Linked DNA regions of Homo sapiens: region 1 is linked to region 2. The links are contacts of gene promoters, found by promoter capture Hi-C in blood cells and fetal thymus (Javierre and others, 2016). All regions are on one chromosome and are shown on one strand. The core of a region is centred on a gene start or on the middle of the fragment in contact, and the rest is flanking DNA. Distances in the headings are between cores, read along the strand shown. Region 1 overlaps LINC01740 (long intergenic non-protein coding RNA 1740). Region 2 holds the start of VASH2 (vasohibin 2).

Region 1 (5,712 bases), core at 2,542-5,041, 400 kb after region 2:
CGATCCCAGGCCTGGTCCCTTTAAGGCATCGAAACTCAGAACATTCTATCAGCTGCCTCGGCCTCCCCGTGGCGCGCTTACGTCACCCTTCGGGGAAGCGGCTGACGTCAGCGCGTTCTTGGCGAGTGGGGCGGGGCCGGTGACTCACCCGGACCGCGCCCCTTGCTCCCCGCCCCCGCCGGGCCGCGCGCACGTGAGCGCGCGCTGCGCGGGTTGCTAATTTTAGCTCCGGCGGCTTCCCTGGGGTCCCGTGAGGTGAAGGGGAGTGGAGGGGACGAGGCGGGCAAGGAGCGTGGCTCTCCTCGTTCCTTCCTGCCCCGCCGTGGGTTTTCCTCGAGGACCGGGCCCGGCCCGAGGGGTGGGGGCCCGCGGGCGACTCGAGGTGCTGGAACGCGGGCGCTTACCGAGGCGAGAACCTAGGGGGTCTCCCCGCGTGGAAACCCCGCCCCTCCCTCGGCCTTGGACACAGTCGGCGCTCAATAAATGAATCGAAGTTTCTTCCTGGACGGCGACCCTGGGCTTTCGGGAGAAAGCCAGAGGGGCAGGGTTCTGGAAGGTTCCCTGGCGGCTGGGGTGCGGTGCGGGCTGAAATCCGAGCAGGAGCTGGGCGCGGCCCTCGGGGACCGACTATGGGGGACGGCGCCGCGGGAGTGGGGCAAGTGCGGGCCTGGACCCTTGGGGCCACCGCGTCAGCAGTCGGCGGGGCCGTGGGAGGGACGGTGCCCGCCCGCTGTGAAGGGCGGTGGCCCTTCTAGGGTCAGGCCAAGCGCAGAGGCCTGAAGGTCACCGGGTGAGGAGCCAGCGCGGGTGCCTCAGAAGCCAAGCGCCCCGTCCCGAGCCCTGCGCGAACCAGTATGACCTTCCAGGAACCAGATGAGAGCTGCGTTTTCAAGAAGCAGTGCCAGACACCTTGGGAAATCGACACTCTCCTGTCCTTGGGTGGGGGTGGGGGTCCTGGAAAGAAGCTCCGTCAGCGTAAAGTGAACTCTTAGCTTTGACTTTGCAGAGGGATCCGTTGTGTCACAGTGACCCGCATTCCTGTCATTGGTGTGGTGTGTTTCACAGCCATTGCCTCCCTAGGTAGATTGTAAAACGGCGTTCGTAGAGCCTTTGACCTCATAATATTATGTTGGAAATTACACGATAGTAAACATAATGATAAATGGGGAATGTTAAATGGTAGTATGGGAACATTTTCTAATGGTTGCATCCTTAAAATTTTCTGTTTCAAGTTTTTAAAGGCTATAGCCTTAAAAAAAGCTGACTGTAGGAAAATGGTGGAAAGAGTCGTGGAATAAAGGTAGCTTTGGGGATTATGACGTGAATAAATGACAGAAATTAGTATGTGTCATTTTCCTTTGTTTTCCAAAAATACCACAATGTCCTTTGTAAATTGGAAGTTTTTCAGATGTGCATGTGGAAGCTGCAAGATTTTTAGGGCTTTATATCCATCTTAAAACTGGTTTTAAAGGATTGGCAATTACAATCTAATACTGGTATTTGTAGCAAATACATCCAGAGGTAGGCATACTGGTTTTTTAATATTGTTATATGGCAACAAAGGTCTCTTTGTCCTAATTTGTAGGACAAAGTTGCAACCACATTTTCCTCAATGTAATGCTTATGGGGGGAGGGTCTTAAATTGATTTGAAAGCAGGTTGTATTAGGATTCTCCAGAGAAACAGTACCAATAGGATATACAGGCATACCTCATTTTATTGTGTCTCACTTTATTGCACTTTGCAGATAATGTGTTATTTACAAATTGGTACCGTTGGTACCGTTTTTTCCAACAGCATGTGCTCACTTTATGTCTGTCAGCATTTTTTTAGCAAGAAAATATGTTTAAATGAAGGTGTGTACTTTTTTTAAAGTCATAATGCTGTTGCACACTTAAGACTACAGTGTAGTGTAAACATAACATATATGCACTGAGAAACCAACAAATTTGTGTGGATCCCTTTACTGTGATATTTACTTTACTGCAGTGGTCTTGAACCAAACCTGCAATATCTCTGAGGCATGCCTGTGTGTGCACATATATGATTTATTATAAGGAATTGACTTATGCAGTGATGGAGGCTGGCAAGTCCCAAGATCTGCAAGGTGAGTAAGCAAGCTTGAGACCTAGGAGAGCTGATGGTGTAGTTCTAGTCCAAGTCCAAAGGCAGGAAAAAGCCCATGTCACAGTTCAAAAGTAGGAAGAATTCACTCACTTTGGGGAGGGTCAAACTTTTCATTCTATTCAGGCCTTTAAATGATTGGATAAAGCCCACCTACATTATAGAAGGCACTCTGCTTTCGTCTGTCAATTTAAATGTTAGTCTCATCCAAAACACCCTTACAAAGATAACCCCAGAATAATGTTTGACCAAAATATCTGGGCACCCCATAATCCAGTCAAGTTTGACACAGAATTAACCGTCACACTGACCTATCTGATTTCTAAAGATCTTGGCCTTAAAATTGTGACTTTGGTCTCTAAGGCAATTATGAGGGTGAGTTCTTTGTAAATGGTTTCTCGGATGTATTTGCTTCTATTGAAACCTTAGTAGAGAGGACCCGTCATTTAATTACCTCTTCCTATGTTCTTGATAGTCTTTATTTTTAAAATCTAGTTCAGTTGAATATAATAATTTCTTTCACCTTTTTTAGAAGCTGAGCTACAGTTATGTTTTAGGAAGCTAGTTGATCTATCCAGTAATCTATCAAGTAATGTTGATCTGTCAAGCAAGTTAATCTATCAAGTAATGAAGCTAGCTGGTATTAAATAATTCTTTGTTTTTAACTATTAAATACAGGGCTTTGGGTATGTAATATAAGCAGCATTATGGTAATATTCTGGAAGTTTCAATTATTGCAATGATTGAGAGCATTAGAGTGTTATTTTCTGTTTGAGATATTTTTTAAGATAGTGTTGCTTCAGGAACATTGTAGTCATAATATTTTGCAGTCTAAATCCTTATTTTAAAAAATCTCATAACTTTTTATATCCTATTTAAAAGTATTGATATTGATATATTGGATTGGATTATTAGCTTTATAAATAAATACAATCACTGGACCTCTGTCAGTCCCAAAAACAAAACTTGTTTTGCACCTAAATTGTTTATTTTATTTTATTTTATTTTTAGCTGAGTAGTTAAGATTTCAGGCCTTTTTAAAAAGTCATGTGTTTAGGTATAATTTACATGCAGTAAAATTCACCCTTTTAGGTATAAAGTTCTGGAATTTTGACAAACATAGTCATGTAATCATTACCACAATCAAGACAAAACATTTCCATCACCCCAGGAAGTTCCCTTGTGCTCCTTTGCAGTCAATCCCATTCCTGAAAATAAAATTTTAAATAAAATTAATAAAACTTTCTAAAAACATGTCTGATTCATGCCACTGTCTGTCACCATCATAAATGGACTTACTTGGTCTCAATATGGAATTCACAAGTTATCACATCAGTCGAATAATTATGTTCTTGCTGATTTAGTCAAAGTGAGATCATTCAGTGCTCAATGGATGGCTGCATACTAACATTTAAGACTTGAGAGGATACAGCACAGCAGGGGACTATCATGATGACTGTTAGATAGGATTTGGTATTTAGGATAACACCAAAAAATGAAGCGTATTCCTTAACAGGAGCCCTGAGGGACCAAATTGATCCAAATCAAACAAGTCAAAGCTTAGGTAAGTAATATAGGCAGCTTAACAGTATTTGAGTCCATTTGGCCATAATCCTTATTCAAAGTGTGATGGAAATTAAGGACCACAGCTTGCTATAGAATGATCTGATTTAAATAAGTATCCAATTTTGTCATTAACTTGATAACACAAGCCTTAGTAACCTGGAGACCCACTAGAAGAACATAGATTAGAAAACCCTGGAAAAGCCAAGCTTGCCATCCACCACTCAGGATTCCTGCAAACCAACTGTTAGCTGCTGCCATGGACACAGCATGTGTTCCTTTCCCTTAAGAAATTTCCTTCATGTATTTGATGGCAGTGTCTAAAGAAACAGCAGTTTCACCTTTGTTTTTAGTTAAGCTTCCTCTAGTAACAAAATTAGGGGACAGACAGGCACAATATTCAGTTTTGTCAATACTATATACAAGCCTCCAATTTGGGCGAAAAGAAGCTCTAAGTCCACATGATGTTCCAGTAAATGTTTTTTCTTAAAACATATGCTGTCTGGGCGCAGTGGCTCATGCCTGTAATCCCAGCATTTTGGGAGGCCAAGGCGGGTGGATCACGAGGTCAGGACTTCAAGACCAGCCTGGCCGAAATGATGAAACCCCGTCTCTACTAAAAATACAAAAATTAGCCGGGCGTGATGGCACGCGCCTGTAATCCCAGCTAGTCGGGAGGCTGAGGCAGAGAATTGCTTAAACCCAGGAGGCAGAGGTTGCAGTGAGCCGAGATTGCCCCACTGTACTCCAGCCTGGGTGACTCCATCTCAGAAAAAAAAAAAAAAAGTATATATGCCATCATCCACCTTTCTCAAAGGATGACTTCTGCCCGTTTGAACCTCTGGGAGTTCTGGTTAGCCACAAAGTCCAGGATTTTTCCCCAATTTATGGATTGGTTTCAAATTCCATATGACTGATACACTACTACTGCCAAGAGTGAGCCCTCAAGAACCCCATTGGAATCATTCCTCAGTGGAAACTAGCTTATCTTCATAAGCCTAACAGTTGCTCTGGTTTTTTGCTAGAGCATAAGCCTTACCTAAAGCCATCCATAGATTATGGTTCCATGGATTTTCCTGCAAGGAAAAGGAAGTAATTAGGACATAAGGAAACAGGGGAGAAAGAAAAAAGATAGACCACAGTAAACAATTGCCAGCTGAGAATAACAAGACTTCAAATGTTCATAGTTAAAGATCTGATGAGAGTTCATTACGATGATAACACAATTGAGAAGGGAATTTGGTTATTTCTGTTGCATGCAACATTTTAAGATAGTAACCAGAATTATGACTGATAATGTTATTCCAGAACTATCAAATTTCTATGAATTTCACACAATTTCTGAAATATGTTAATAACACATTCATACAAATATAATCCAAAGAAGGTTTAGCCTTACTTCTTATTTGGCAATGCTTCCCGTATAATTTAATATACCAAGTAAGCCCAATTAGCTTAATATTTCTCTTTTCATAAGGAGAAAATCAACTTACAAAAGGCAGATTAATGGGAGAAAAAGCATACAAACTTATTAGCATGCATAGGGGAACTATCATAGAGTGATTACGCCACCATGCAATGGGACACAGATGCTTGTATATACCCTTCTTCTTAGGAGAAAGGGAGATGGGGAAGTGTGGATGATTTTAGGGTAGTAGTAAATGAATTTTGGGGAATTCAGTAGGCGTGAGGAACATACAATGGCCTGAGACAAAGTCTGTTGGGCCCGCAGAGCAGACAATGGTTTGTGACAAAAGTCTGTCCAAATTTGTTGACAAACTTCAGTTTTTCTTCCTGTGATATGAGTTCAGTTACTGAAAACTCAGGGAAGGGACCACAGGTAATTGTTTTCTTCTTTGGTGGACCCAAACTTTAGGCAGATCAGGGAACTTCAGAGAACAGATTGGCCTTGTGCTCTGGGAGAGAGTGCGGAGAGGGGTGGGGCATGCCAGAGAGACCTTGAGAGGCTTCATCTGAAGTTCAGCATGTTAAAGTGCCATACTTTAGGGTGTTGGTTTCTGAACCC
Region 2 (5,780 bases), core at 1,928-4,427:
CAAAGTCTGGTCTATTCCCATTTTATAGATGAGAAAACTAAGGACAGAGATTTTAAGTGAATGACCTCACTTAAGTGAGGCACAAGGCTAGATGTCATACAACCAAGACTAGGATTCAGTTCCTTGATTTTTACTCCAAGTCCCTTCCATCCTAAGAGCACTCTCTCATAACATTCAAGGGTGCTGTGAGTAGCAAAGGAAGTTGACAATGCTCTGCCCTGATTCAAAAGGCAAGAGGAACACAACAATCAGTGATGAAATGTGATTTGCGGGTGGGAGGGTGCTGCGAGGAGGATTTATGGTTGGTCTAAGAGCTTCCTAACAATCGACTCTGGCCAGGCCTAAGATCAGCTGCCCTGGGAAGCAGCAAGCTCCCCATTCCCAAGAGGTCTTCAGAAAGAGGAGGGGATTCTGTTGAGAGGTGGGAGACTGGTCTCTACAAACAGCAAAATTCCATGATTCCCACATAGAGAATGCACCCCCCCCCGCGCACCCGCATACATGGTTGGAGGAAGGATAAAAGCACAATTAGAGGCAGGGTTGGTACGGGTGCTACTAAGAAAGGCAGCATGGGACAGTAGGAACAGGCGTTTTTTTCCTTGTGGTCACTTTTCTTCCAAGTTTAAGGGCTCTCGGCTCCTCACTGGAGGAAAAATTCTCAAGTCAGAACTGCAAACCAGGAACAAAGGTTGTTCTCATATTCAAGAACTCAGCAAGGGTAATTATGGTTGACACTAAAGCAGGCAAGATTCTAGTTGGGCACAATGAAGATCTCCTTGACCAGCAGAGTAATAGAACACTGTAACTGACTGCAGCAGGAAGTTTAGAGGCTCTGTCACTTCTCCAAGGACACACACAGCTTTCTGGCCTGCAGGCTCAGATGCTCAGCTGTCACCAGGCTGGGGAATCAACCAGATGGCCTTCCGGGTCTCAAGTCTGGCATTCCTAGACCTGCCCAGGAATCTTCTCAGCCGTACCAGCGTCCCCAGGGTCCAGGGGAAACCATCCGCCACGCTATAACCCCGAGGCTCGGCAGCATTTCTCCCCAGTTTGCATTTTGATGTTTCATATAACGTATCTACTCCCACCAGGGTACATCTCCCTCCCTCGGTAAAGATATCCTTAGCCACCAAACCCAAATGGCTCACTGGCTTCTCTCCAAGGCAAAAAGAGAGTTTCACTCCTCATCCTCTTTTTCTATCCAGTGAGACTAATTCATCATGTGTACTGGAAAGTCCCTTTTAAGTCTCAGCCAAAAGTCTTTCTTTTTTCTTGGAGCACAAATAAGCTGGGAAGAGAGAGAGAGAGTTCACCGTTTTGCAAGTTTCAGAGGTGAAAGTCACTGTCACACACACACACACAAAAAAACCAGAAAGAAAAGAAAAAAAACTGGCAAAAAGTCTGGAAATTATTCACACTGAGAAGTCTGACTGGTTGATTTCAAATTCATTCACAGCTTAATAAATCATTTGCTGGGGGAAGAGGGGAGCAGAGGAGGAGCAAGACACTCCAAAGAGAACAAGCAGGGTGGGATCCCTGGGGTCTGTGCATTCTTTGGCATCGCTGGTACCTGGTGGCTCTAGCTTTTGCTGAAGGAGGATGTATGTGGGGGTGAGTAAATAATAGAGTTTGGCTGGAGCTTCAAAGACACCTTGGCACAATCCAATTACACAGTCCCAGGATAGCAAGCCCGCTACCTCTCCCTTCCCCATTTCTTAGGCTTCCAATCTAAATATCTCAATTAGAAAAGGGCTGGCAGGAAGGAATGGGGAGAGGAAGGGAGTTTGTAGCAGGACTAGGAAAATGGAGATTGCCTGTGTTTGCTATGTATAGGCTGAAACGGTCCCATCGCTGCCTACCTACCCCCAGCCCCCCAACTCCGCCCTGGAAGCCACTGACCTTTGCCAAGAAGGCGGCGTTCCTGATGGCGCCCACCATTTCTCCCCCCTTAGGGTGCACCTTGGCCACGTGCATCCACATGCGCTCCCAGGTGTGGCTGTCGATGGGGAAGCCGCTCTTGTTGACGTGGAACAGCACCCCGCCGTCTTTGTCCTCCTCCTCTGAGCCCCCGCTGGTGGCGAGGCTCACGGGCCGCGCGTGGCTGCTCCGGGACCGGGTGCCTTTGGCGCCTTTGGGGTGGGGGCAGCGGTGAGTGTCGGCCGCGGAGCCGGTCATGGTGGGGCCTGGGCGGGGAGCGAGGTACTGGGGGCGCGCGGCGGCGGCAGCGGCGGCGGCGGCGGGGGGCGTGTGCGCGCGGGCGCGGCGAGGGGATCAGCGCCCCGCGGGGGCGGCCTTCTCCATGCCTCTCGCTGCGGCAGGACTCACCAAGGGGGAGCGGCGGCGGGAGCTCCGCGGAGGCTCCCTGCTTACCGGCGGTGCCTGAAATCAGCGGAGACACAGCTGACACCACAGCTAAGTGGACGCACAGCGGAACCGAGTGAGGGGTCCCGGAGTGTCTCCACGACACTCCCCGCTCCCCCCTGCACGCTGACAGCCTCCCTGAGAATCGATGACGGGCTTCCAGCCCTGCGATTACCTAGAAAGGCAGCTCAAAATGTGCCACGAAGCTTCACACACACCTAAACCCGGGGGGTTGGGGATGGAGGGGCACAAGGAGCTTGGGGGATGCGGAGCGCAAGATGTGGGGAGAAGAAAGACAGCTTGTGTAGCATGAAGGAACAGGAGGTTCCCGCAAGGCTCCACACATTCCTGGGTCCTCAGATGTGGCCAAGAGAGGAGGGGAGCCACGAACGTGCTGGCATGTGAGCGCCCAGAGCTGGCGCGAGGGCGCTGCAGCAGCCTTGGCTTGCAAGGCGGCCCGCTTTCTTCCAGGAAGCCCTCCCGGACCCCGGCGGGGATCTAGTGGAAAGAGCTCCATCCGCCCCCTTTTCCCCGAGTTCCAGCGCCTATCACCGGGAGGGACTGGCTGCAGGCGGGCGGCGCGCAGGAAGGGCGCGCGGCAGCTCCAAGATCCTACCTCGGGACGGTTGGCTTCATGGCTGCAGAGCCTCTCCGGGCGGCGGGAGAGCAGGGGCTGCTGCTGCTGCTGCTGGGCCTGGGGCTGGGGCTGGGGCTGCTGGGGCTTGCTGGGGCCGTCGCCTCATTCCATGTCCCATTCTCGAATGTTATTCTGTGACATATAACCAAGTCACCCGGGCAGCCGCCGATGTTCCGAATGCGTCTATTGGCCACCGCAACAAAGAGGGGCGGGTCCCGGGCTCGGGACTCTACAACCCCGGGCTCCGCGACGCTCTGATTGGCTCCAGGGGTTCTCTGGCGGGAGGGGACAGGAGTAGGGGGAGCCTGGCGGCCACGCGAAATCCGATCGCTGTGGTGTCCTGAGAGCCCCGCGGGCTGGAGCGTTTGGCCATGGGACTTAAGATCGAGTTTCCCCAGGGGTCGTGGCACTTCGAGGGTTTGCAACTGTGGAAGCAGAGGAGAAACAAAACCACCCGAGAAGTGACCCCGCGGAAGCAGAGGGTTTGGCATCAGAAGAGCATTCCCTGAGGGACGCTGGACACACTTACCTGCCTCTACCCGGGATGATGAGTTGTTCATCCTCTACCTGGGATGATGAGGGGCTGTTCATACCTATGCGTGAAATTAAATCTTTTTTAAATCCCGCATTTAAAAATTCCTCAAAATTAACAAGTGGGTGCAGCTTTGGATCCTCTGGTATTAGTCATGGTTAATAAAGTCCCTTTAAGCCCAAGTTGAGAGGAGACAATAAAACTCAAGAGGTCAGGCAGGCCCTGACTGTTCTGCCACAGCTGTTGAGTGAGAGGAGGGATGGAGAGATGCTTCCAAACCATGGTGAAGTGGGTGGCTATCCCACACTCACTACTGAAACACCTTCTCTTTCTTTTTCTTTAAGAAAGAGGAGAGCAGGTTGAGGTGGGAAGAGCACCAGACTGCTGACCTGAAGGCTGGCTCCTGGTCCAGGTTTGTCACTTTGCTCAGCTGTGTGACCCTGGACAAGCCACTTCCCTGCTCTGGGCCTTAGCTTCTCTTTCTGAAAGGAGAGCAGACCTCCCGCTCTCCAGGGTCTGTTCTGGCTGTAAGGTTCTGTGATTCCCTGACTTCCTCTCTTGTGACACTGAGGATCCTGGCCATAGCATCCTTTCTCTTTAAACTGCAGGCCAGCAGGCCAGCTCTGAGCAAAGCAGTTATGAGACCTATGCTAAGTGAACCTTGAATTAAGAAGACAGTTGTCAAAGTGCCACTGATGGCGGGTCAGTTTCTGGATGCTTATCCTGACAAGTTGCCTGTCATGGAACTGGAACTTCTCTTCCACAGGAGGGCAGAGACCCCTGAGGGGTAGTTGAGAGCCAGGGCTTGGGTGAGGAGACCTGGATTCTGGACTTAGCCCTGCACTGCTCCCTGAGACAGAGCCCATGCCAAGAACTTTATAGATTCAATAATGAGAATAGGGCAGACGTGGTGCCTCACACCTTTAAACCCAGCACTTTGGGAGAAAGAGGAGGAAGGATTACTTGAGGCCAGGAATTAGAGACTGGACCAACATAGCGAGACCTTGTCTCTACTAAATAAATATTTTGAAATTAGCCAGATGTGGTGGCACACACCTGTAGTCCCAGCTACTCAAAAGGCTGAAGTGGACATGTAGAATGAAACTGGATCCTCGTCTCTCACCTTACACAAAAATCAACTCCAGATGGATCAAAGACTTAAGTCTAAGACCTGAAACCATAAAAATTCTAGAAGATAACATGAGAAAAACACTTCTAGACATTAGCTCAGGCAAAGAAATCATGACTAAGACCTCAAAAGCAAATGTAACAAAAATGAAAATAAATAAATGAGACCTAATTAAACTAAAAAGGGTCTGCACAGCAAAAGAAATAATCAGCGGAGTAAACCGACAATCCACAGAGTGCGAGCAAATATTCACAAACTGTGCATCTGACAAAGGACCAGTATCCAGAATCTACAAGGAACCCAAACAGATCAGCCAGATAAAACCAATCCCATCAAAAAATTGGCAAAGGACATGAATAGACAATTTTCAAAAGAGGATATACAGTCAACAAACATATGAAAAAATGTTCAACATCACTAATTATCAGAGACATACAAATTAAACCACCATAAGATACCATCTTACTCTTGCGAGAATTGTCATAAAAGTCAAAAAATAATAGATTTTGATGTGGATGTGGCAAAAAGGGAACATGCATAAAACTGCTGGTGAGAATGTAAACTAGTACAACCACTATAGAAAACAGCAAGATTCCTTAAGGAACTAGAAGTAGAGCTAAAGCTACCATTCGATGCATCATTCCCATGGCAGGGTATCCACCCAAAGGAAAAGAAGTCATTATATGAAAAAGACACGTGCACATGCATGTTTATAGCAGCACAATTTGCAATTGCAAAAATATGGGACCAACCTAAGCGCCCATTAACTAATGAGTGGATAAAGAAAATGTAGTATATAGGCCGGGCGTGGTGGCTCATGTCTGTAATCCCAGCACTTTGGGAGGCCCAGGCAGGCGGATCGCGAGGTCAGGAGATCCGAGACCATCCTGACTAACATGATGAAACCCCGTCTCTACTAAAAATACACAAAATTAGCCGGGCATGGTGGTGGGCGCCTGTAGTCCCAGCCACTCGGGAGGCTGAGGCAGGAGAATGGCGTGAACCTGGGAGGCGGAGCTTGCAGTGAGCTGAGATGGCGCCACTGCACTCCAGCCTGGGCAACAGAGCAAGACTCTGTCTCAAAAAAAAAAAAAAAAGAAAGAAAGAAAATGTGGTATATA

The links. The method cuts DNA at HindIII sites, captures the fragments that hold promoters and counts their contacts. A CHiCAGO score of 5 or more calls a contact.
Region 1: a contact is called between a fragment that was not itself captured here and the fragment with the promoter of VASH2 in region 2, in 1 of 17 cell types (fetal thymus). The highest score is 5.1, in fetal thymus.

Annotation. Positions count from the first base shown.
Region 1 is chr1:212,553,462-212,559,173 of GRCh38, reverse strand. It overlaps LINC01740 (long intergenic non-protein coding RNA 1740), which reads right to left. Exons shown (of 3, transcript NR_125985.1): 2 at 4,726-4,762; 3 at 3,108-3,331. Among named protein-coding and RNA genes, the nearest start is that of LINC01740, 11 kb to the right of the region's middle. RefSeq lists a silencer at 108-377 and enhancers at 438-567, 1-684. The HindIII fragment of the contact is 213 bases long and covers 3,685-3,897 here.
Region 2 is chr1:212,947,938-212,953,717 of GRCh38, reverse strand. VASH2 (vasohibin 2) reads right to left here and starts at 3,177. Exons shown (of 8, transcript NM_001301056.2): 1 at 2,978-3,177; 2 at 1,900-2,379. The coding sequence starts at 2,175. RefSeq lists enhancers at 2,472-2,521, 3,042-3,191. The HindIII fragment of the contact is 4,785 bases long and covers 2,570-5,780 here.